3 separate regions of the Homo sapiens genome follow, and regions 1 and 3 are each linked to region 2. The links are contacts of gene promoters, found by promoter capture Hi-C in blood cells and fetal thymus (Javierre and others, 2016). All regions are on one chromosome and are shown on one strand. Each heading gives the region's core, a stretch centred on a gene start or on the middle of the fragment in contact. The rest is flanking DNA. Distances are from core to core; before and after follow the strand shown. Region 1 overlaps SSH2 (slingshot protein phosphatase 2). Region 2 holds the start of SSH2 (slingshot protein phosphatase 2). Region 3 overlaps SSH2 (slingshot protein phosphatase 2).

Region 1 (2,960 bases), core at 310-2,809, 120 kb before region 2:
AATCCTTCCACCTCGGCCTCCCAAAGTGCTGGGATTACAGGCATGAGCCACCCCACCAGCCCTACTTATCTTTTAGATTGGAACTTAGGTGTCCCTTTCTCCAGAGGCCTTCCTTGATCCCTCTAGGACTGGGTTCCACGGTCTTTCCAAATACAACCATACTCCCTCTACAGTTCTCTAGTGTAGCAATTCTCACACTGCCTGTTTACTTGTTGGTCTCCATATTATAAGCTTGAAGGCAGGAACTGTCTCTTGATCACTGCTGTATACTCAGCACCTAGCAATGCTGAATAAAAATTTTGAATAAATGACTAATGTAAAAGAAAGAACAAGTATTGTAGGACAGATTCTCCAACCAAGGTGCCCCATTTTCTATAATGTAGATTCAGTCTGCAAACACCCTGATTTAAAATACAAAAAGATAGTAATTCCTCAAACAAGAATATTCTTAGCTATAGCCATCCCACATTTTCACATACGCAACCATTTTAGAGACTGCACAACAGAATTCTCATAGAAACAAAGATGAATGGGTCAATGTTGTCAATAATAATCATAAATTAGGGAACTAATCATCATCATCTGCTTTTAGAAGTGGGTTCTATTTATTTTATTTTAGATAGTCATATCTAGCAATCTTTATAGCTTCTATTTTTTAACTTGCATATTTAAATAAGTTTCCCAGAAAATAGTTCATTAATTCATCTACAATTTATTGTGGTATATGGTTGAAGATAGAGCTATCTAACTTAATTTTCTCCCCAAATAGTTAATTGTTATTACAGCACTACCTGGCTATTTATCCATTTTCCCCAACTGACTTGAAATTCTACCTTAATCATACACTAAATATTTTCATGTACTAAGGTCTATTTCTGGGCCTTCTAGGCAACATCTTTCTTGTACACCATGCTATTATTAGCTTATAATTGTTTTCAATATGTGACTGTGAGAATCTCATCTTTTAATTTTGAGTGCACAATTTCACCCACTTAGTCTTCCAAATGACTTTGTTAGGTTTTCAACACCCTAAAAATCCCTTTAGAACAAGCTTGTCCAACCCATGCCCAGAATGGCTTTGAATGTGGCCCAACACAAATTCGTAAACTTTCTTAAAACATTATGATTTTTTTTTGTAATTTTTTTTCTCAGCTCATCGGCTATCATTAGTGTATTTTATATGTGGCCCAAGAAAATTCTTTTTTTGTTTGTTTTTTGGAGACAGAGTCTCGCTCTGTTGCACAAGGTGGAGTGCGGTGGCACAATCTCGGCTCACTGCAACCTCTGCCTCCTGGGTTCAAGCGATTCTACTGCTTCAGCCTCCCGAGTAGCTGCGACTACAGGTGCGCACCACCACACCTGGCTAATTTTTGTATTTTTAGTAGAGATGGAGTTTTGCCATGTTGGCCAGGCTGGTGTTGAACTCCTGGCCTCAAGTGATCCATCCTCCTTAGCCACCCAAAATGCTGGGATTACAAGTGTGAGCCACTGTACCTGGCCAGGAACTTTTTAATATTACATTTGATTATATTATATATTACGTAATATATAATGGTTATTGCCGGCAATATACAATAGCAAATCATTTCTATATATTTATTTTGATATTAACTGGTTTATTGCAGTTTTAAAAAATAAATTTTTATATATTTTTTCATTTAATAATCACTTTTCAAAGAGTAAAAATGTAAAAAGCTATTCATTGAAGTTACGTAAACAAGTGCTTCCACTCACAAATAAGATAGAAATACTTATAAATGAAATGTGAACCACAAGTTTTTTTTTTTCTTGGAGACAGAGTCTAGCTCTGTTGCCCGGGCTGCAGTGCACTGTTGCGATCATACCTTACTGTTGTCTTGAACCCCTGGGCTCAAGTGATCCTTCCACCTCAGCCTCCCAACTAGCTGGGACTACAGGTGTGCACCACCATGCCCAGCTAAATTTTATTTTTTGTAGAGACAGAGTCTCACTATGTTGTCTAGGCTGGTCTTGAACTCCTAGGCTCAAGTAATTTGCCTACCTCAGCCTCTTGAAATGCTGGGACAGGCATGAACCAAATAATTTAATGCAAGCTTCACCACCTAATTCTCTAAGAATTTGTATAATCTCAAGTATAAAAATATCTAAAGAGTTTGATTTTCTATCGACTATTTTAATTTACATTTAAATATATTTATGATTTTTATATAAAAGAGGAGATTACATATATCCAACATAAGAACTGTTGTCAGGGAGCAAGTGGTAATACTTATCTCTAACCCTCATGAAAAATAAGAAAAAAAGACTCATTCATTAAACTGTGAACCTTTTGAAACAGGGACTGTGTCTTATTTTTATACCCTGATACCTGGCCATAGTATGTGTTCTTTTTTTTTTTTTTTTTAAGTCTTATTGAGAAATAATTCATATACCATACAATTCACCTATTAAAAGTATACAATTCAATGTTTTTAGTATCTTCACACAATTATGTTTTTTAAAATATATATTTCTGCCTTTTTTTTTGAAGATAGGGTCTTATTTTGTTGCCCAGGTTGGGGTGCAGTCACACAATTTTGGCTCACTGCAGCCTCTGCCTCCCAGACTCACGTGATTCTCTCACCTCAGCCTCCTGAGTAGCTGGGACTACAGGCACATGCCACCATGCTTGACTAACTTTTTAATTTTTTGTAGAGATGACAGCTCACTCTATTGCCCAGGTTGGTCTTGAACTCCTGGATTCAAGCGATCCTCCTGCCTTGGTCTCCCAAAGCACTGGGATTACAGGTGTCAGCCACTACGCCCAGCCTATTTATGCATTTTAAAACCATGCCAGCCGGGCGCGATGGCTCATGCCTGTAATCCCAGCACTTTGGGACACCGAAGCGGGTGGATCACGAGGTCAGGAGATCGAGACCATCCTGGCTAACACGGTGAAACCCCGTCTCTACTAAAAATATAAAAATTTAGCTGGGCATGGT
Region 2 (2,811 bases), core at 102-2,601:
AAATCCACCAACACCGTTTTTAAAATTACAGTTCTGTAGGAAGTTCAAGGTGGTTTTCCCAGTTGCTCGCATTTTCACTCAGTTTATTTCTCTCTAAAACATCTGGATGTTGGTTTTTTAAAGCCCATTTGCCCCACTGGTGCAATATATTGTTTTTAAAAATAAATATTTTCAAAAATGGAGCCTAAGAGAATGGAGTGTAAACGAATGGGGGTGGGGCGAGGAGAGAAGGCAAAGACGGGCCCAGCGGGGAAAGGCTGGTTACTGGGTATTTTCCTTCTGAGAGCATGCTTTATTGGCATAGGCATCTGAGGTAACGAGCCATACAAACACGACCTTAGAACAAGAATGATCACGAGCAATGAGTGTAAGGCATAAATATCTGTAAGACGGAAATAATTTGACACTGATCACTAAGCAGCACCAGATGCTTCGGGACCTCATAAAGGAAAGGTAAGAGGTCCAGGAAACAGAGATCATTGCTACCCTCTGGGGTGGGGGGCAGGCGGGAGAAACCAAGGAATAACTACGGTTGGGCAGTTCAAAGCCTGAACAGTACAGAGCAAAAGAAAGCCAGCAAGTGACTAGGGGAAGGCACACACCCTGGCGAGTACGAAGAAGGGTGTGCAGTGTGCAAATACTGAACAGGTCTATGAAATGGTGTGGGTAAGAGATGTGGGTGTGGGTAAGGGGCAACGCAGGAGGCTCACGGTCCCCTCCCTGCAGCAGAGCAACAGAGGGTAAAAGAAGGGGGAGGGTGAAAAGCAAGAATGACTCATTACCAAAAGGAAGTGCTCAAGCCATAGGGAGGCATGCCACAGGGGATTTCAGGGCGAGGATTGTGAGGAGCTAGGTGCTCAGGGTGATGGGGGCAAAAATCAACGTCTTGTAGTTCCTGCTGCTAGTCTTTAACATGGGGGTGTGGGGGGGTTCGCGGCAGCCGAGTGCCAAGGCCTGGGAAGCGGCGCGGCGCGTGCGCAGTGGCGTTCGGCGGGACCCGCTGAGGCAAAGCGGAGCCGCAGTGACAGAAGCAAGCGGAGCGGCCGCCAGGAAGGACTCACCGAGGCGCAGGGGCTGGAGGTGGTGCTGGGGGTAGGTGACCGCTGGACCGTGACCAAAGCCATCTAGGCGCTGCTGGGTTGTTCCGGGCAGGGCATTCTTGTCCTGAGTGTGGGGGACGGGAGGGTGACGGAGCCGGGATGGGGAAAGGGGTGCGGGGTGGGGGTGAAGGGAACGGGGAGGAGGAGGAGGCCGCGGGAACGGCCGCAGACTCCGCACCCACCACCAGACTGTCGCCGACTGACGCTCCGAACGGGCGGCGGGCGGGCGGTTCCGCAGCTGCGGGGCACAATGAGCGCTCCCAGTGCGCAGGCGCCACCTGTCAGCTACCGCCTCTCCCCTCGGCGCGCGCCGCCGCCTGGTCGTAACCCTTGAGTTGCCGGAAGCTGGCCGAGTGCGTGCGCCTCGGGCCGCCGCACCCTCCTGGGTTTCCTCCTTCGTGCTGGAATCGCGCGGTTTGCCAGCACTGGGTGCTGTGGAGTGGGGTGGGGGAAGGGGCCGAAGGGAGCCAGCCCGGTGAGGGGTCCCAGGGCGGGGGGCCGCTGGAGTCTTCACTCCTGAGAGACAACCATTTTATGAGGTGGGGCGGCGCACAGCTTAACCAACCTTAAAAAAAAGCAGCTGAGATGAAAATCCTGAAGCAAACACGTTTTCTATTGGGAAAGGGCTCCGCGGAGTTTCAAACCCTCTCACTGGGCGCAGACAGAACTGGGCTAGACCAGTTTACTCCCTTCACCCCGGCTCTCGGGGGCTTTTTCTTAACTTTTCCCCCCCTTCCGTCTATGTTTTATGATGAGACTTCTGGAAAGAAAACCATTTTCCGTTTGATACCCTGGAAAGGTTTGTGGTACCCTCATGCTTCCTCTATTGCCTGTCTAAAGACTTATTCATTATTCCTGAGGAGAAGAGAAGCTGAGCGCGCCTGGGAGTCCGAGGAAGCCGGTTGTGAGGGTCCAGCCTGCTATTGACCTCTCACTTGCCTCCTGCTGTGAAGACAGTCTTTTAATTAAACAGGATTTGCTCGTTAAGCTTTCTTCTCCTTCGTCTCTAAATGTCATTCTTTCATAGACCTATGTAAAAATGTAGATTAAAAGATATTTTAAGGGAATGGTTTTCTCAGGGGTAAATTGTCTGCAGAACATAAGCAAAGAATGTAATGGAAAATCAAGATTAAAAAGGAAAAAAATTGCACAATGCAAATATCACTGATTATTTACACAAAGAAAGAGAGTTGACAAGGCTATTTCTCAGCTTGAGTGGATGAGCTGGTAAATACCACCGTACATATCAAAGCTGTAGAAAACACACACACTTGGGAGTTTGCAGTTATTAAAACCCACCCCCTCCTGTTTGTCACTCAAACACTCTTGGATCTCATTGCTTCTTTTAAACTGACAGGGCTGTCATGAGCTCTTTCTGGCTGCTGTACGGTTAAACGCCACAAGAGTCCTCTGTGCTGAGCCTTTGTTCTCTCCCTGGGGCCCTGTGGTTGAAATAATTAGCAGGGAGGTTCCATCAAGAATCAGACACTGAGGGTCCCTGTACTGTACAGTCCTATGTAGAGTGTAGTGCAGAGAAGCCAGCTGGTAGGCTTTTGCCCCCTGGTGGTGATCAGGAGTGCCTGTGAGACAAAATTAAACAAAGATGTATGGTTCACAGATTAAACAATCTGACTGTGTTTTCCCCAGAGCTCCGTAGTAAACAGGAAAAGAGAAGGCAAGTTTCAGAAGTAAGAACTTTGAACCAATGCAT
Region 3 (2,980 bases), core at 138-2,637, 100 kb before region 2:
GTGACTGAAAACAACAGTTTCTCATTTATGTTACATGTCCATCCTAGGTTGGTGGATATTCTGTTCCATGTTGTTCTCTCTCATCTTGACTGGTCACTGTGACAGGGAAAATGGAATATAATGAATTATGCAACAGCTCTTAAGACTTAAAAGCTTCCACCTAGAAGTGACAAAAACCACTTATATTTTGTTTGCCGAAACAGTCACATGACCATGTCAGTTCCCAAGGAAACATAATCCTACCAGTATGGAGAAGGAGAACCAAAAATATTGACAAATGCAAACGATGACTACAATCATAGATAAGGATATTGTATTATACAAGATGCTTTCAGTTGCAAGCAATCTGACTCAAGAGAAACAAAAAACATAGTAGTTTATTTAACTGGTAAATTCAACAGGGATTCAGAAATGCATTGATGTTATTAGGTCTTTATTTTCCACTCTTTCTCTTTGACTTTGCTTTCTTCTTATTCTTAGGTAGACTGTCTCTGTGTGGTGGTAAGATGACCACCTACCACACTAAGCATATATCATCCTTTTAATCAGAGTCCAGAAAAAAATTAACCCTTTTTACCTCCAGAGAGACCTATATCCATCTCTCAAAATGACAGTGGCCCTGCTTGGGTCATGTGCCACCATAATATCCAGGGAAGAGGAGTGCTTTGATTGACCAGCCTGACATGGGTCTATGGACATATGACCATCCAGTGGTAGAAAAGCAAGGCCGAGTGATTCTCAGCCCTACCAGAATCAGATGGAGTAAAGTAGACACAGTTCCCAAAAGGAAAAGATGAAGACTATACCAAAAGGTAGCAGCTACCTACCAAGAGAGCTCGACTTTTTCATTTCCTTCATCATTCCCCTCAACTCTGATGACATGTATGAGACTAAATTCCATAAATATAAACCTATGTAGTCTTGGTGTCATACTACAAATTGTTGCTGATGTTAAGCCAGGTCAATTGTAAAAATACACACTAGGGAACACATATGGGTAAATGCTGGGACAAAACTTCTTTAACTTATTTTGCATAAGGCACTTCTGAGTACAAATCCAAGCAAGTTACAAGGAAATTCCCTCTTGCAGAATGAACTGCTAACAAATTATTCTTGAGATGCTTATATAAATGATAAAATGGCAACATGATTACCAGGCTTCTTACTAGTAAAAGGCTCAAAGAAGATAAATGACTTCCCAGTCACAGACAGCATATAGTAGTGCTAGGATTTAAATCCCAGTTTGATTGTTTCCTTGGCAGGGGCAGAGGGTGAAATGGTAACAGGCATCAGATTACTAACTTCAGAAGGACAGCAATTTTTGTTTTTGTATCTCAAGCAACTAGAACAGTGCTTGGAACATACTAAGTTAGTGATAAAGAAGCCCAAGAATTAAGCTCCTTTTCCTATTTTAAGTAATAGTCAACAGCAATAAAAATAAATTTGGTTTTCTCACTTTGTCATTCTTCTAAAACTTGGCTAAACACATTTCCACAGGAATAAAATGCTTGGTTTCCAGGAAGTTCCAGGTAATATGCATTATGACTTGGCATATCCCTCAGTATAGCTTTTTGAAGCTGGAAAGGACAAACACAAAACAATGAAGAAATAATTTAGGGAAAAAATAAATAGAATGAATGAGTACAGAAAAAAAAAAAACCCCAGCATAGCTACAATATCTGTAATGTGAATGTTTTTCTAAATCAATATAAGCCTTAGGTTTTAGTAGTAATGCTATCTAATACATTTCTTAACCATTTTAAAGAGGATAATTACATATGATAGAACCTCTGCTTACCTTCCTGCCATAGCTGGGTTAAGCTGTATTTCTAGCCAATTCCTAACACTCTCCTAATTACTAGAACAATTTAGCTGATGCTTTTGGTTCTTCACTTAGAGAACTAAGTAACAGAAAAGGCAGCCATGGAGGTAGAGCCATCATGTTAGACTAGATAAAGGATAAGATACAAAACTCACCTGTATTTACAAAAACAGAATTATTGATCATCTGTGAACCCTGCCATCACAGGAAGTCTTTAACAAATTCAGTAAGTGATCTTGATTGCAATGAACTCTCATTGACTACACAAGAAACTTTTAATTTTTCCTTTCGTAGCACTTGGCAGCAAAACCCCCTTAAGAATCCTGCTCTTTTATCTTCTTAAGCTACACAACAAATTTAAATACAAAGTAAAGACTTTCTCAGCAGGGTCTGAATCTACTGTGAACTTTTAGAATAGATTCCCAACCACTCAAAACTCCCTAGGACTCCTACAGAAAGATGGCATGCTTTAACCCCTCTTCCTAGTTCCACAAAAATGGATCAAAAGCAGAAATGTGTGTTTTAGAGAAAAGGCTAAAGACAGTGAGAATCCCTGGAAGCAAGTGATTTGCCAAACTTTAAAGCAGAAGAGAATACACATTTTCTGGGTACCAATTCCTTAGAAAATATTAAATCAGAAGATCCCAGTTTCCAGGCCTAGAATTACATATTGCTGAATGAAATAAATCAATGGTATTTAAATCCTTTGTGAAGCTAGAACAATCTATTTTGGTAAAGCAGTTTTTGGGGAGACATTATTAACATTTCAAATACTATCAACAATTAACCTTGATCAACCTGAAGCTTTGTTCAGCAGTATAATTACAGACGTTACCTAGTATTGTGGGAAACAAAGACACACAGACATTTCCAAGCAACTAACTACATTCTGTCATTTCCTGCAAGTGACAGAACCTTTTCATTGGTGTTTGTGAAAAGCCAGCTTCAAAGCAAAACCCCAGTGGCGTTAAAGTAAGCAACCCTTCTGCTTCCATTTCCATCTCCAAATGACATTTGTAAAATTAAACCATATACATGTTTCTGTACCATTTGAGACTAGAGTCCTAAAGTCCATTAGTGTAGGCTAGACAAGTCCACATGTGACCCATGAATGGAGTGCTATTCCATGAGCCACAAAAAGTGGGTGGATCTCAGAGG

What was found. The method cuts DNA at HindIII sites, captures the fragments that hold promoters and counts their contacts. A CHiCAGO score of 5 or more calls a contact.
Region 1: a fragment that was not itself captured here is called in contact with the fragment with the promoter of SSH2 in region 2 in 16 of 17 cell types (naive CD4 T cells, total CD8 T cells, megakaryocytes and 13 more); the score reaches 18.6 in naive CD4 T cells.
Region 3: a contact is called between a fragment that was not itself captured here and the fragment with the promoter of SSH2 in region 2, in 11 of 17 cell types (M2 macrophages, naive CD4 T cells, fetal thymus and 8 more). The highest score is 10.1, in M2 macrophages.

The regions. Positions count from the first base shown.
Region 1 is chr17:29,809,796-29,812,755 of GRCh38, forward strand. All of the region lies in intron 2 of SSH2 (slingshot protein phosphatase 2), which reads right to left. Among named protein-coding and RNA genes, the nearest start is that of SSH2, 120 kb to the right of the region's middle. RefSeq lists an enhancer at 250-309. The HindIII fragment of the contact is 1,021 bases long and covers 1,050-2,070 here.
Region 2 is chr17:29,928,877-29,931,687 of GRCh38, forward strand. SSH2 (slingshot protein phosphatase 2) reads right to left here and starts at 1,352. Exons shown (of 16, transcript NM_001282129.2): 1 at 1,062-1,352. The coding sequence starts at 1,124. It also overlaps a transcript of EFCAB5 not described here. RefSeq lists silencers at 552-601, 1,112-1,391, 1,542-1,631, 2,365-2,534. The HindIII fragment of the contact is 8,919 bases long and covers 1-2,086 here.
Region 3 is chr17:29,826,138-29,829,117 of GRCh38, forward strand. All of the region lies in intron 2 of SSH2 (slingshot protein phosphatase 2), which reads right to left. It overlaps LOC124900390 (a long non-coding RNA gene), which reads right to left. Exons shown (of 2, transcript XR_007065694.1): 2 at 1-1,577. Among named protein-coding and RNA genes, the nearest start is that of SSH2, 100 kb to the right of the region's middle. The HindIII fragment of the contact is 2,473 bases long and covers 152-2,624 here.